3 separate regions of the Homo sapiens genome follow, and all the other regions are linked to region 1. Evidence: promoter capture Hi-C in 16 types of primary human blood cells and fetal thymus (Javierre and others, 2016). All regions are on one chromosome and are shown on one strand. Each heading gives the region's core, a stretch centred on a gene start or on the middle of the fragment in contact. The rest is flanking DNA. Distances are from core to core; before and after follow the strand shown.

Region 1 (4,465 bases), core at 925-3,424:
TTCAACCAAAGGTCAACAGCAGCGTTTCCCCAGCAGCTGACAGGTCAAATGGGCAGGAAACAACTGCGGGGAACAAAGCCCCCCGCTGTCCGGCAGGGGCGAACCCGGCTCCTCCGCACTGAACAGTTTTGTTGTGCTTTTTGGAGGGGAGAGGTTTCCGCCCCCTTTCCAGCTCCCTTCCTCCCGGGTGGACAGGTCGGAAGAGGAGCGGAAAGGAAAGGAAGGGAGGGAGGCGGCGAAGGCGCCTGCGGGGGGGAGGAGCGGCTCTTTGATGGGTGTGGGGGGGTCTGAACTGCCTACCGGGCTCGGAAGCGCAGACCCTACCCGCGCGGAAGAATGCGCGGAATGCGGCGGCGGGAGGCGGAGGCGCAGCGCGGCGGGGGGCGCCCGGACCCCACGCGCCCTGCCCGCTCCCTAGCCCGAGGGCCGCGGACCCACCCTGCCCTGCAGGTGTGGCGGGCGCCAGGTCCCTCCAGGGACTCGGACAGCACGCGATTTTTCCAGGATTTCCGACTACCAAATGTGACAAGACAGTCTCGCCGCCGAGAGTTTCGCCAGGGCTCGCTAAAATCCGGCACGCGCCGCCATCAGATAGTCGAAAATCCGGGCTGAACAAAAGGTGATCATTCTCCGCTGCCCGGATTTGCAGGCGCTAGAGGACCGGTTCCGCCCGGCGTCCCCCAGATACCCAGTCCTTCAGCCTCCCGCTCCCAGAGCCTGGATCTAGCCCGGGACGGGGATTGGCCACCTTCCAAGCTGAGCTTGGAGTTGGGCAGCGGGAACGCAGATACAGATCGCTCTACACAGTGTGTGCAACCCAATCTCCCTTTCTGCATTTGCCAGGGTCTTGTTTTCAGTGAAACTGGCAAGGCCAATTGTACCTCGGCGCCCACCCCTCTTCACCTTTTCTCCACCTCTGGGATTCTCCCGGTCCGGCTCAGTGTAGGGCCCCAGCACGCCAAACCAACAGGCCTATCTTGTCCCCACGCGCCCCGTGGTACTTGGAAACTGTTCCCGGGACTCAAGATGGACCGCGCAGAGGAGTCGCTTCATCCTCGAGGCTAGGACCGTTAATGTCAATAAACGGGGCCTCGCTAGGACGGTGCGGAATTGCAGGTGACCGGAGAAACCCGTCCGCACTTTCCCTGAGGACTTGAACCTCGCACTTGCACAGAAACCTTGCAAACCCCTACACACCAACACACACAAAGGGGCGCGCGGGGATCCCCGCAACCACGAATCACGCCGGGGACTCCTTCCCGTGCCAATAAGGCGCAGGCCGCCAAGACCCCCTCCATCTCCCCGACTCCAGCTAGCGCCCGGAGCCCTCGTTTACCTTTGAGCAGGCAGATGTCGGTGCGCTCGGCGTTGCGGCGCAGCGCCTGCACCACCAGCGACACGGTGCTGTCCTCGCGGAGGCTCTCGGCGCGCGGGCTGCGCTCGTCGTAGACGATGACCGCCGAGTAGAGGCCGGAGCGCAAGCGGGCGCGTACCTCCTCCTCGGCGGGCAGGATCTGCTCCAGGCTCACGGAGCCCTTAGCCCGCCGCCGCACGATGGTGTTACAGCGCACGTTGACCGAACCTAGGATGTAGCCCGCGCTGTGCGCCAGGAACGGTCTGCAGTCCAGCAGCAGGCACTTGCCGCCGCTCGGCAGCCCCAGGGTGCCGTGGCTGCCGCTGCCGCCCGCGCCGCCGCCATTCTCGTCCCGGTTCATCAGCCTTTTGAGCACACTGCAGTCCATCTCCCGCAGCTCCTCCATCGTCACCATGGTCGCCGGGAACCGAGGCGGCTGGGCGCGCGAGGAAGAGAAGAGAACCCGGGCCGCCTAGGCTGCAGAAAGGGGCGGGCGAGAGCTAAGAAGGGACGCCTGCAGAAGTGGCCGCAAACTTGGTCCTCAAGGGCTCCCGCGGGAGAGCCTCTTCTTCCCTGTCCCCTTCCTCCCGCAGCCTCGCGGTCACATAGCAGTCGGAGCGGCCTCGGGCGCCCAGCCGGGCGGCGCGCAGAGCGGAGGGGGAGGCGCCGGTGGAGGAGAGTGTGTTTACGAGAGAGGACCGCGGACTCTTTTCGGCGACGGCCTCCCGTGTATTTTTGCCGGTCGCGCGGCTCCTGTCGCCACTGGCGCCAGCGCTGCCCTGCCTACGCTCCTCCGGCGCTCAGCGCACTGCCCCAGCCAGAGTTTTCTCCTCGGCTTAGAGGTTTATTAATGCTCCTCCGCGCTCCCGGGGGAGGGGGCGCTAGGTACTACCCCGCCAGGCCCCGCCCCGTTCCATTCCGGGCCCCGCGCCGTCCCCCGCCCCCCGCGCTGTCCCCCGCCCCCCGCGCTGACTCCCCGCCCCCTCCGGGCCCCTCCTCCCACCCCCTCCCCGGAGCTTGAATGGAGCGCGGCCGCTGGCTCCCGGTCACGGGAACTCGACGTCACAAAGAGCGGAGTAAACAGGGCGCCGGGTGCTCGCCATCAGGCCCATTCATAAAACCGAGGCCGAGAGGAAGAGGGAGGCGGCCTCCGACCCGCCGCCAGCGGCGGGCAGCGCCCGGACTTTGTGAATGGAGCGCGCGGCGCCTTTCGCCGTCTACCCGCGGGCCCAGCCTGCGCCGCGCCTCCAGCCCGACACCGGCACCTGTGCCGCCGCTGCACCCCGCCGCTAGGCGGGCGGCGCCAAAGGAAATAGCCGGCTGAGGAGGCCAGGGCTCGGGTTTGAGCTTTCATCCCTTGGCACCTTCGCGCTTCCCCGCGTGACAGCCCCGTAGGTTTTTCCCGGTTACCCAAGTGGAGAGGGGACCGGAGCGCTGCTGCCCACCCAGCGGGGCCTGACACCTCCTAGCCCCAGACTCCCCGTGCGCTTTCGGCCCGGCCAGTCCTTTCTGAATATGCGATTCCTGAGACGTTAGCGTATGCATTAGCGTGATCGATTTTCATCTAAAGCCATTAAATCAGTTTTATAGCTTCCCCAAGAACGTGGGCAACCCCCTGCTTGGAAGATGAAAGAGAAAGTCCTCCCGCCCGAAGCCCAGGATCGGAGTGAGGTGTGGGGTTTGTTGCTTTACTACCCAAAGGGAGGCATTAATTGCCGGAATGGTGTTCCGAGGGAGGAGAGCAGGCTGCGCTCCTGTCCACGCTTCCTAAAAGATGTTTATTTAACCCTGGTCGGGGGAAAAACAAGGTTTTCGGGTTTGGGAAACGTCTTCACCCTATCTTGCATAGTTGTGAATTATCCTTTCAGGAAATGACAGGGTCCACATTTGTTGCGGAGCTGGACCCTGGAAAATGTACCCGCAAAGAATGACCTTTTGAAAGGACTTCAGCAGCTCTGGGTCCGATTCATGTTTCTGGGCATCCCTTTTTCCTGGTCACGTAGCAGCCCTCCCCATCCCCATTTCTCTTTTGCATTTAATTTCCCAGAGGCGGCTTTTGGCTGGGGGTTTGTGCACGCACGCGGTGGGGACCGTGCAGAAGCCAAAAATCATTCGCCCGACATCTTGCCAAGTCTTGTTAGTGAGAATTAATCACAGAGCAAGGGAGTTACAGGACTCGCTCGCAGTTTCGGAGGCTGCAGAGTAGCGTATTCCATTCCGGGGCGCGCGTGGAAGCCCGACCCAGGCAGCGAGGGCACCGGTACCCGCCGGGTCTCTCCCGCCCAAGCTCACCCTCTCCCCATGCCTTTGTTCCGGGCGGAGCGGCTTTCCCGAGCTCTCACCTCCGGTCCCGGGGGCCATCCCTGCACTCCCCGACCGGAGCTCGGCGGAGCCTCCACTTCCGAGACCTTCGACTGGCCTCGTCCCCCACTGGGCCCCGAATGCCTCGACCCCCGGGCCCTACTCGGATGAGCTGTAGGGGCACCGCTTGGGCAAGGTGATATTTCCTTTTGCTCCGGGCTCCAAAATGGCTTACGATGGCACTGCACGGATCCTTTCTCTTTTTAAAATTTAGTATTTTATTCATCATGGATTTTTTGCATTTTTTTTTCTTTTAAAGAGGCATTGCATCAAGATATTTCTTTTGATTACTGACTTTTCGGCGCCCTTCTTAAATGTTGCGCTCAAGGCTTGTGCTCACCCTAGTCCAGGCCCTGGAAGGAGCCACAACTGTGGACTGACCGAGGCTGCCCGGTGGCAGGACCCTGGGCGTCGGGCACTCCGGGTGGGAGATCAGTGGTCAAAGCCGCACGGCGTGGCCTCCCTGTGGGGAGGGCAAAAGGTGTCTGAGTCCAGTTTCCCATTCTGCTGAATGGGACTGTGGGGGTCTATCTAATAACTCGCTTTCGATAAGGAGCAAGGAGCCCCAGGGGCCCCGACAGTCCAAGGCTGATTTTGCTTTCCCGGGTTGCTCTCCAGCAGCTCAGAAATCCGCCGCCTGCCAGGACCCAGGGCCGGAGCTCTCCCGGCGCAAGTAAACACTGATTCCTTTACAAAGGCTTTAACAAGACATTTCTGGGAAAAGCCTCTCAGGAGGCAGGTCCGGGCCAA
Region 2 (4,465 bases), core at 653-3,152, 540 kb after region 1:
TGAACCTTTTTAAAATAAGTCATTTTTATCAAAACAAAGATGATAAAGTACCATAAATGGAAGCTTAACTGCTTGTCATTTTCTAAAGGTCCCTTTTGAGAAATGTCAGGAAAGATACATGATTGTCTCTTGAACTAGACAAGAAATCTTCCAGTCACTGTGGTAGGACCAGTTTGTACATAAACACACCACATTTTACTCCCTGGGTTTCCAAGATGCCTCCATAGACTTATTATTCTTTGAGGTGGAAAGATATTGAAATACAATATAAAAGATGAAAAGATAAGAAAAGGTGCACAATGAAATCTTAGACTTGATCCAAAAGGGAATGGAAACTCACATTCAGACCTAATGAAAAAATATGCTCTGGTCAGATCCATAGCAGAGAAAAAAGAGTGCAAAAGAGGTAGCTGGAAAAACAATGAATTCCTGGTCTATGACCGTGGCCTCAAAAATAGTAAAGACAACGCTGAATGCACAGTTTAAGACGAGCCTGAATTTAGGACTGATTCCATGTTTGAAATAAAGGGCACAGGAAGACAAACATTTCTGCAGGCTCTCTGGCTTGTGGCTGTGGGAAAGTGATGACGCTGATCGGGGGAGCTGAGCTGACAGCATTTCGGGTGTGCTAAGGGGTCTGCAAGGGAGACGCACGTGGAACAGAGTCAAATCAGTCAGCCTAGACATTGAGAGCCTCATCTGAGAACCAAGGGAACCAGGATCCAGACCAGTGTCCTGCTGTCCACTGAAAAGACTAAAAGACACAAGATGGTACATTGCATGGTATTAGCTACTCAGCTACTGGGATCCCCGAGTGCCTGACAGGTGACACAGGGGCTTGGATGACAAAGAAAACTGACTCATGGACCCTGATAAATATTTATTGAGCATGTTTCACCGGTAGGTCTGTCAATGGGCTGAGCACTGTGATTCATCAAATGGCCTCAAACTTTTCAATAGTCAGAAGATCTAGATTCAGCCGGGAGCAGCGGCTCACACCTGTAATCCTAGCACTTTGGGAGACCAAGGTGGGAGGATCACTTGAGCCCAGGAGTTCAAGATCAGCCTGGGCAACATAGTGAGACCCTCTCTCTAAAAAAAAATAAAAGATAAAAAACATTATCCAGGCATGGTGGTGCATGCTTATTCTCCCAACTATTCAGGAGGCTGAGGGGGGAGGATCACTTGAGCCTAAGAGGTCGAGGCTGCAGTAAGCAATGATCATGCCACTGTACTCTAGCCTGAGCCTCAGAGTGAGAGCCTGTCTCAAAAAAAAAAAGATCTGGATTCAAATTTAAACTCTGGCCAAGCATGGTGGCTCACACCCATAATCCCAGCACTTTGGGAGGCTGAAGTGGGTGGATCATTTGAGGTCAGGAATTCAAGACCAGCCTGACCAACACGGTGAAACGCTGTCTCCACTAAAAATACAAAAATTAGCCGGGTTTGGTGGCAGGCACCTGTAATCCCAGCTGCTCGGGAGGCTGAGGCATGAGAATCACTTGAAACCAGGAGGCAGAGGTTGTAGTGAGCCGAGATGGCACCACTGCACTCCAGCCTGGGTGACAGAGTGTAACCCTGTCTCAAAAAAAAAAAAGAAAAAAAAAATTAAACTCTGTCCCTTATCAGCTGGTAAGACCTTGGTCACGTTGTTTGTTCCTTTAAGCCTCAGTTTTCTCTTCTGTAAAAATGAGCATCTGGATTAAATGCCTGAACTCCCTTCAGCTCTGAAACTCTGTGGTGTATTCTCTGAGGACATTACCTCTCTAAGGGACCCAAATTAAACAGCTCACACCATCCATCATTTTTCTGTCTGAGGTTTTATTTCCCTAATCAGATTTGGGTAAATTTTCAGCCTCTCTCTGTCTCTTACTTCCAATCCAATAAAACCTGTATGGATTTGTTTTGTATTTCATCTAATGTCATTATTCATTCTAAGAGTCACTGCCTGACCATTTCCCTGCCTATAGCATAATTAGCTATTAAAAAGCTACACTGGCATGGTTTTCAAACTTGCATCCTCTTTTTCTGAGGTGGATTGATTCTAAACTGATTAAAATATCTCAGAATTTCCAATACAATTTTTAAAATGCAACAGATTTTCAAGACTGCCTCATGACTCTGCCAAGCCAAGGGAGTTAGCTGCCAACTCTCTCTGACTGCCAAGGAAGCCAAATAAATAATCCTGATGGTGGTTTTAAAATGAGAGGCAACTGCCCATTTCTTAGGTTGACAGTGCCACCCTACACATTGACTTCTCCAGGGTTTGTAAGACACCAAGGGTTATGTTTCAGATTTTCCCCAGAAGGACAGAGTAGCGTCCTGGACCAGTCTGCTCAGTTAGCAGATAGAAATCATTCACCATCTTCCCTTGTTTCACATACATTCATCCTCTCAATAAAGAAGTGCTCCTTTCTCTTCCAAAACCCTGCTGAAGTTCACTGCCTCAGTGAAACCTGAGAAGAATCTCTCTAGTCATCGACCCAGAAGCTGACTCCTAACCTCCTTGCCTAGAATCCTGGACCTCATGCTTTGAGCCTTACATCAGAGGACTTTTTTTTTTTTGAGATGGAGTTTTGCTCTATTGCCCAGGGTGGAGTGCAATGGCATGATCTCTGCTCACTGCAACCTCTGCCTCCCGAGTTCAAGCGATTCTCCTGCCTCAGCCTCCTGAGTAGCTGGGATTACAGGCGCCAACCACCATGCCTGGCCAATTTTTGTATTTTTAGTAGAGATGGGTTTCACCATGTTGGCCAGGCTGGTCTCGAAATCCTGACCTCAGGTGGTCCACCCACCTCGGCCTCCCAAAGTGCTGGGATTACAGGCATGAGCTACTGCCCCTGGCCTTCAGTAGACTTTTGCTCTAACCTTTCATATATCTTCCACATGAACCAGGACCATCATCCTAAAATCAGGCTATGAGATCATCCAACCTAACATAGTCAATATCCCCACCCATCATACTTGCCATCACCCAGATATCCACGTCACTTACATTACTTCCAGCTCTTCGATATGTCCTATAAATGCCAATACAATTAACCAAGTGATTTCTTGGAATCAACAATACTGGCTTGGACTACTTACTGTGTTTTGATCCCTTTGGTATTCTCAGAACCAGGACTATCTGCAGAATCTAACACCATCATAGGACCAGACAGAAATGGTTATTGGTGGGTGTCCCAGGCACCGAGACCCCACCAACCTGAGTGACTACCTGGCATAGCCAGGAGCAAAATGCAGAGCATCCAAACCATATGGAATTAGGGGTGTCTGTTCTTTGTCTTCATGCCTTTGGAATGTGCGCTTTTCTTGTCTTTTTCTGTTAAGTTGTAGGACTCTCAAGCTAAAAACCATGTGTATTCCCTTTCAATGCCACAATGGAATTAACTCCTCATTGTCATTTATCAAACATTGTTACCACGTTAACTATGAAAATGACAAAGAAGACAAAGGTTACCATATCCTGGTGAGGTTAATAGGTATTGAGGACCTGCATCTCAAGACTCCAACCAACGTGACCGTCAAGATCACATCTGTGATTTGTAGGATGAAGGATTCTGTTTCCACTCACCAGCATCTCCTGACAAGCTGCGGGACTGGAACCCCCTTGGGCTGATAGAATGACCCTCCAACCACGGCTGCACAAAGCTGGTAACAAGAAAATTTCCACAGCAATGTCTGTGACTTTAGATCAGAGTCAACACCTCTGTTTGGAGGCAGGTCCTCCATATTTAATACAAAGCTTTCTTTTCTGGCCTGGCATAAAATTATTTGGAATGTTTCTACCCTAAGAAAACAGAACATAGAAACAAAGCTTTTTTATCTCCCTCCAGGTCTTGTCTCCAGATAATGAAACTCTGTCATTAGGCTTGTAAATACTCCTCACTTTAGGGGTGATGAGATTCAAACTGTGAGTCTAGGGAATTTCCTGGTAACAGCTCAGCCAGGAAAATCAAAGCTGAGTTTTCTATCCTTGATATTGAAACGTTCCTATTCAGTGAACAAGTGGTTACTGAAAATTGTATGGGGGCACTTTATGTTCTCCAAGGGACTGTGAGCCCCTGTGATGTTCACAGTCCACAATGGGGACTCAGCTGAACCTAAAGCACTCAGGCACGGCCACGTGCTCCATGCTCCTTACTCTAAATAGCACCAAGTACTCCAGGAACTTGGAGCAAAGTGGGCCTGGCCTTGAAGTACTGCCAAGATTTCTAAACACAGCAACAGGAAGGAGGCATTCCAGGCAGAGACAAGAGCATGAACAGAAGAAAGGCAGGGCAATGTGTCTTTGGGGGATGGTGAGTGAATCCAATTCATTTGGAGTCTACTATGTAGGGGAGCATACAGAGAATACTGGGAAATTGGAATTTCTGGAGACTCATTCTATCATGTATGGCTGCATTAGTCCATTCTCACGCTGCTGATAAAGACATACCTGAGACTGGGTAATTTATAAAGAATA
Region 3 (4,465 bases), core at 921-3,420, 520 kb after region 1:
CAGCGCTGCCCACCCCCTCTCATATGGTCCCCATGTAAGCCCCTGGAACTGGGTACCATCCCAAAGGTAATAGCAACCCCAAAAGTAATTGACTAAAATTACATTTCTGCCACTCTGTCACAATGGAGGTCTGAAACAGTTGTTACGTTATAGAGAAAGACAGTTTCATTCTTTGCATAACTGAGTCTATAAACTCAGATTCACCCTCTACGCAGCATTCCTTGGTGTGAAAAAAACACAGGATTCAGAATCTGAGACTTGGCTTTGAGTTCTGACTCTATCACTCTAAAGTTTTGTGAATTATTGGGAAATGCTCTCTCACAGCTCAGAAGACTTCTCTGCTTCATTTTCTCTCATTCCACTCTCCATGAAGAGGAAGAACAGCTGTTATGACCCCCTACACCCTCCAACAGCTGTTACATCTTCCCTCAAACTTCTGAAGACCAAACAATGCTGCTCTTTAAAAACCACCCTTCACCACCAAGCTTGCATTTGTCCAGTGCATTCAAGGGTGACAAACTCAATGGACACTGGCATCCCTGCTCTAAAACTTGACCCAGAACACTTTCATGTCCAGGAAGATTTTTTTTTATTCTAGAGAATCTATGCAGTGTACATAGCCAACTTCCATGTGCAACCTGCTCCTGTGCTCTTGAACTGGAAAACATCTTGGAGTTTCCAAATCTCTCAGTGCTGCCCATGCTGAGCTCCTCCTGATGACAAAACAAGGGAATCACTTTCCTTTAAGGTTTTGTTTTTTGGTTTTTTGGTCTTTCATTGTTGTTGTTGTTGTTGTTATTTAGATAGCATCTATCTCTGTTGCCCAGGCTGGAGGGCAGTGGCATGATCTCAGTTCACTGCAACCTCTGCCTCCTGGGTTCAAGCAATTCTCCTGCCCCAGCCTCCTGAGTAGCTGGGATTACAGGTGCATGCTACCACGCCCGGCTAATTTTTGTATTCTTTAGTAGAGACAGGATTTCGCCATGTTGGCCAGGCTGGTCTTGAACTCTTGACCTCAAGTGATCCACCCGCCTCAGCCTCCCAAAGTGCTGGGATTACAGGTGTGACCCACCGTGCCCAGCCTTTTCCTTTAAGTTTTCCCTCTGGATAGGTGTGTACCCACCTGTGGTGGTGTGACTTTAGTCAGGATTTCCTAATTCAGGTTCCAGAGCACTGGTTCTGCTGGGATAATACATGTTATGGAAAAAGTTGAGCTTGACATAGTCAGACTGGCTTGGGAAATTCTGGTATAAGTAAAATCAAAGGGGTTTCTTTACTCCAGGAGAACCTTGAACATGCTAACGTATGCTGTTTTCTTCAAAGAAGGGTGATATGGTTTGGCTCTGTGACCCCACCCAAATCTCACCTTGAATTGTAATAATCCCCATGTATCAAGGGTGGGACCAGGTAGAGATAATTGAATCATGGTGGCAGTTTTCCCAATGCTGTTCTCATGATAGTGAGTGAGTTCTCATGAGATCTGATGGTTTTATAAGGGGCTTCCTCTTTGCTCGGCAGTCATTGTCTTCCCTGCCACCTTGTGAAGAGGCGCCTTCCACCATGATTGTAAGTTTCCTGAGGCCTTCCTAGCCATGCAGAACTGTGAGTCAATTAAACCTCTTTCCTTATAAATTACCTAGTCTTGGATATTTCTTCATAGCAGCATGAGAACGGACTAATACAGAGGGAATATGGAATGCAGCGTGTCCCAAACTTCTGAGACCCAGACTGACATGGAGCACCTGCTTTCTCAGACTATTATGAATGGGCTGGATTCCCGTGACAGTGATCACACCTACTGTTTCCCCGTGATTGACTAGGGTGGCCCATCCTGAGAGAACAGGGCTCCTTAGGACTCTTTCCTCTCAAACAGCACCAACTACTATCCAATATGCTTTTCTGAGACTCAGTAGACACTTAAATATGGCTAAAGCTATCTGCTTTGAGATAATGAAAATAGCTGATGCTCTCTGAGCCATGTTCTGCCACATTCTACCATCTATGGCTGTGACTGACAACGTTGGCTGTATATTATGACAATCCACATTAGCTTTCTAGGGCTGCTGTCACAAAATACCAGGAACTGGGTGGCTAAAAACAAGAGAAATGTATTTTCTCACAGCTCTGGAGGCCTGAAGTCCAAAATCAAGGTGTCCTTCTGAAAGGTTCTGCAGGAAAGCTCATTCCCTGCCTCTCTCCTAGCTCCTGGGAGTTGTTGGTAATTTCTGGCATTCCTTGGCTTATAGATGCATCGTTCCAATCTTTGCCTCCTCTGTTGCACAGCATTCTCCTTGTGTCTCTTCACATTGTTTTGTCTCTGTACCTGTCTGTTTTGTGTCTCTTCTCCTCTCCTAATAGGGACACCAGTCCTATTGGATTAAAGGCCCACCCTATTCCAATATGACCTCATCTTAACTAACTACACCCACAATGAATCTATTTCCAAATAAAACCACATTCTGAAGTTCCAGAAAGGACATGAACTTGGTGGGGGAGATCACAGTGGGGGCAATTAAACATAGCACATCACTTAAGGAGTTTTTATTTATTTATTTATTTAGACGGAGTTTTGCTCTTGTTGCCCAGGCTAAAGTGCAATGGCATGATCTCGGCTCACCACAACCTCTGCCTCCCGAGTTCAAGCAACTTTCCTGTCTCAGCCTCCCGCGTAGCTAGGATTACAGGCATGCTCCACCACGCCCAGCTAATTTTTGTATTTTTAGTAGAGATGGGGTTTCTCCATGTTGGTCAGGCTGGTCTCAAACTCCCAACCTCAGGTAATCCACCCGCCTCAGCTTCCCAAAGTGCTGGGATTACAGGCGTGAACCACCGCGCCTGGCCCACTTAAGGAGTTTTTAGAACTCACACGCCAGGACAGTTGTAATGATCCCAGAATCTGGCAATGGGACCCAGTCATCAGTGTTCCTTAAAGATCTCTGAGTAATTCTAATGTGCAGTCAAGTTGAAATGACTGTGCTATGGACTTTATATAAATATTGTCCCATATAGTCCTCATAATAAACCCAAGAGGTGCTATTCATATCCTTATATTATGGATCAGACGTCTGAGACTTAAAGAGGTTAAAATAACTTGACTGTCGCTACACAGGCAGTAAGTGATCGAGCTGGGATTTCTGGAGGCATTTAGCTCCAGAGCCGGATCATATAAGCCTTTCAGACTCAGAGCTGAGCTTTTAGTAGCCTCTGAGCTCTGAGAGAAGGCACCACAGCCCCCTCTGCAACTGAGGAGTTACACTGGCCTCTGCATGCGGCTTTCTTTAGGAAGCATTCCCCTTTCTGGCTTTGATCCTAGCCCCACTCTTCCCTCTCCAGTCCCAGCAAAACCCCTCCATCTGGCACCACTCTGGGAAGTGGGAAGACAAAAGTTTCTCTAAATCGCCACTTCCAGCCTGCCATGCGACTGCAGCTTTTAATAGTAACTACTGCGCTCTGATGAAAAAGATTGTTGTTTCCGTAACGGGAAAAGTAGCTCCAATCCAAGGACGCTGCCATAGCCCTGACCAATGAATGTGGAAGAGCCCTGAACAGGGCTAACTAAAAGGCCTCTCAGTAAGCGGTTGTCAAGCCTTAGGGTGCCTCTCTGGACAGTTCCCGGTACTGCACCACTGCCCAGAGACCAAGCCAGGCCCGCTCCCAGCTCTGCAGACCCTGCCACTTTTGAATGGGTCAGGCAGATCAAACTTGCTATTTACAGAGGCCAGAGTGGTACCACCTAGGGGATGTCATCTGTAACTTTATTTTTATCTCTGATGATGGCTTTAAAATACATTCATAGAGAAACTGGATCACTGGTATATTGTTGATGCAAGTGTAAAATGGTACAGCCACTCTGGGGAAAGCTTGGCAGCATCTTAAAAAAATAAACTTACAACTATTATACCTCTTAGCCATTACACGCCCCCTGGGCATTTATTCCCAGAGAAATGTAGATGAGCTCACACAAAAACATGAACACAAACATTCACAGCTGCTTTACTCATAATAGCAAAAAAAAAAAAAAAAAAAAAAAAAAAAAAAAAAAGGAAATAGCCCAGTCCTTAAATGGGTGAATGGTTAAACAAACTGGCTTATCCATACCATGGAATACTACTGAATAATAAAAAAGAAAATGGACCAGCTACTGTGGCTCATGCCTGTAATCCCAGCACTTTGGCAAGCCAAGGCAGGAGGATTGCTTGAGCCCAGGAGTTCAAGACCAGCCTGGGCAACATAAGAAACCCCGACTACTACAAAAAACAAAATTTAGCAGGCATGGTGGTATGTGCCTGTAAGTCCAACTACCTGGAGGCTGAGGCTGGAGGATTGCTTGAGCCCAGGAGATCAAGGCTGCAGTCAGCCATGATCATGTCACTGCACGCCACTGGGTGACAAAAGGAGACTCTGTCTCAAACAAACAAACAAACAAACAAACATACAAAAAACTATTAATACACACAACAACTTG

The links. The method cuts DNA at HindIII sites, captures the fragments that hold promoters and counts their contacts. A CHiCAGO score of 5 or more calls a contact.
Region 2: a contact is called between a fragment that was not itself captured here and the fragment with the promoter of DUSP4 in region 1, in 2 of 17 cell types (endothelial precursors and M1 macrophages). The highest score is 8.5, in endothelial precursors.
Region 3: a fragment that was not itself captured here is called in contact with the fragment with the promoter of DUSP4 in region 1 in 4 of 17 cell types (megakaryocytes, endothelial precursors, M2 macrophages and 1 more); the score reaches 6.9 in megakaryocytes.

The regions. Positions count from the first base shown.
Region 1 is chr8:29,348,510-29,352,974 of GRCh38, forward strand. It overlaps DUSP4 (dual specificity phosphatase 4), which reads right to left and starts at 2,175. Exons shown (of 4, transcript NM_001394.7): 1 at 1,337-2,175. The coding sequence starts at 1,769. It overlaps LOC124901924 (a long non-coding RNA gene), which reads left to right and starts at 2,465. Exons shown (of 2, transcript XR_007060876.1): 1 at 2,465-3,025. RefSeq lists silencers at 293-462, 2,033-2,352, 2,543-2,682 and enhancers at 1,173-1,674, 1,203-1,352, 1,675-2,174, 2,873-2,942, 2,983-3,092. The HindIII fragment of the contact is 21,736 bases long and covers 1-4,465 here.
Region 2 is chr8:29,893,722-29,898,186 of GRCh38, forward strand. No RefSeq gene overlaps it. Among named protein-coding and RNA genes, the nearest start is that of LINC02209, 26 kb to the right of the region's middle. The HindIII fragment of the contact is 3,682 bases long and covers 62-3,743 here.
Region 3 is chr8:29,871,585-29,876,049 of GRCh38, forward strand. The region is part of intron 1 of LOC105379354 (a long non-coding RNA gene); the gene reads left to right. Among named protein-coding and RNA genes, the nearest start is that of LINC02209, 48 kb to the right of the region's middle. The HindIII fragment of the contact is 3,375 bases long and covers 484-3,858 here.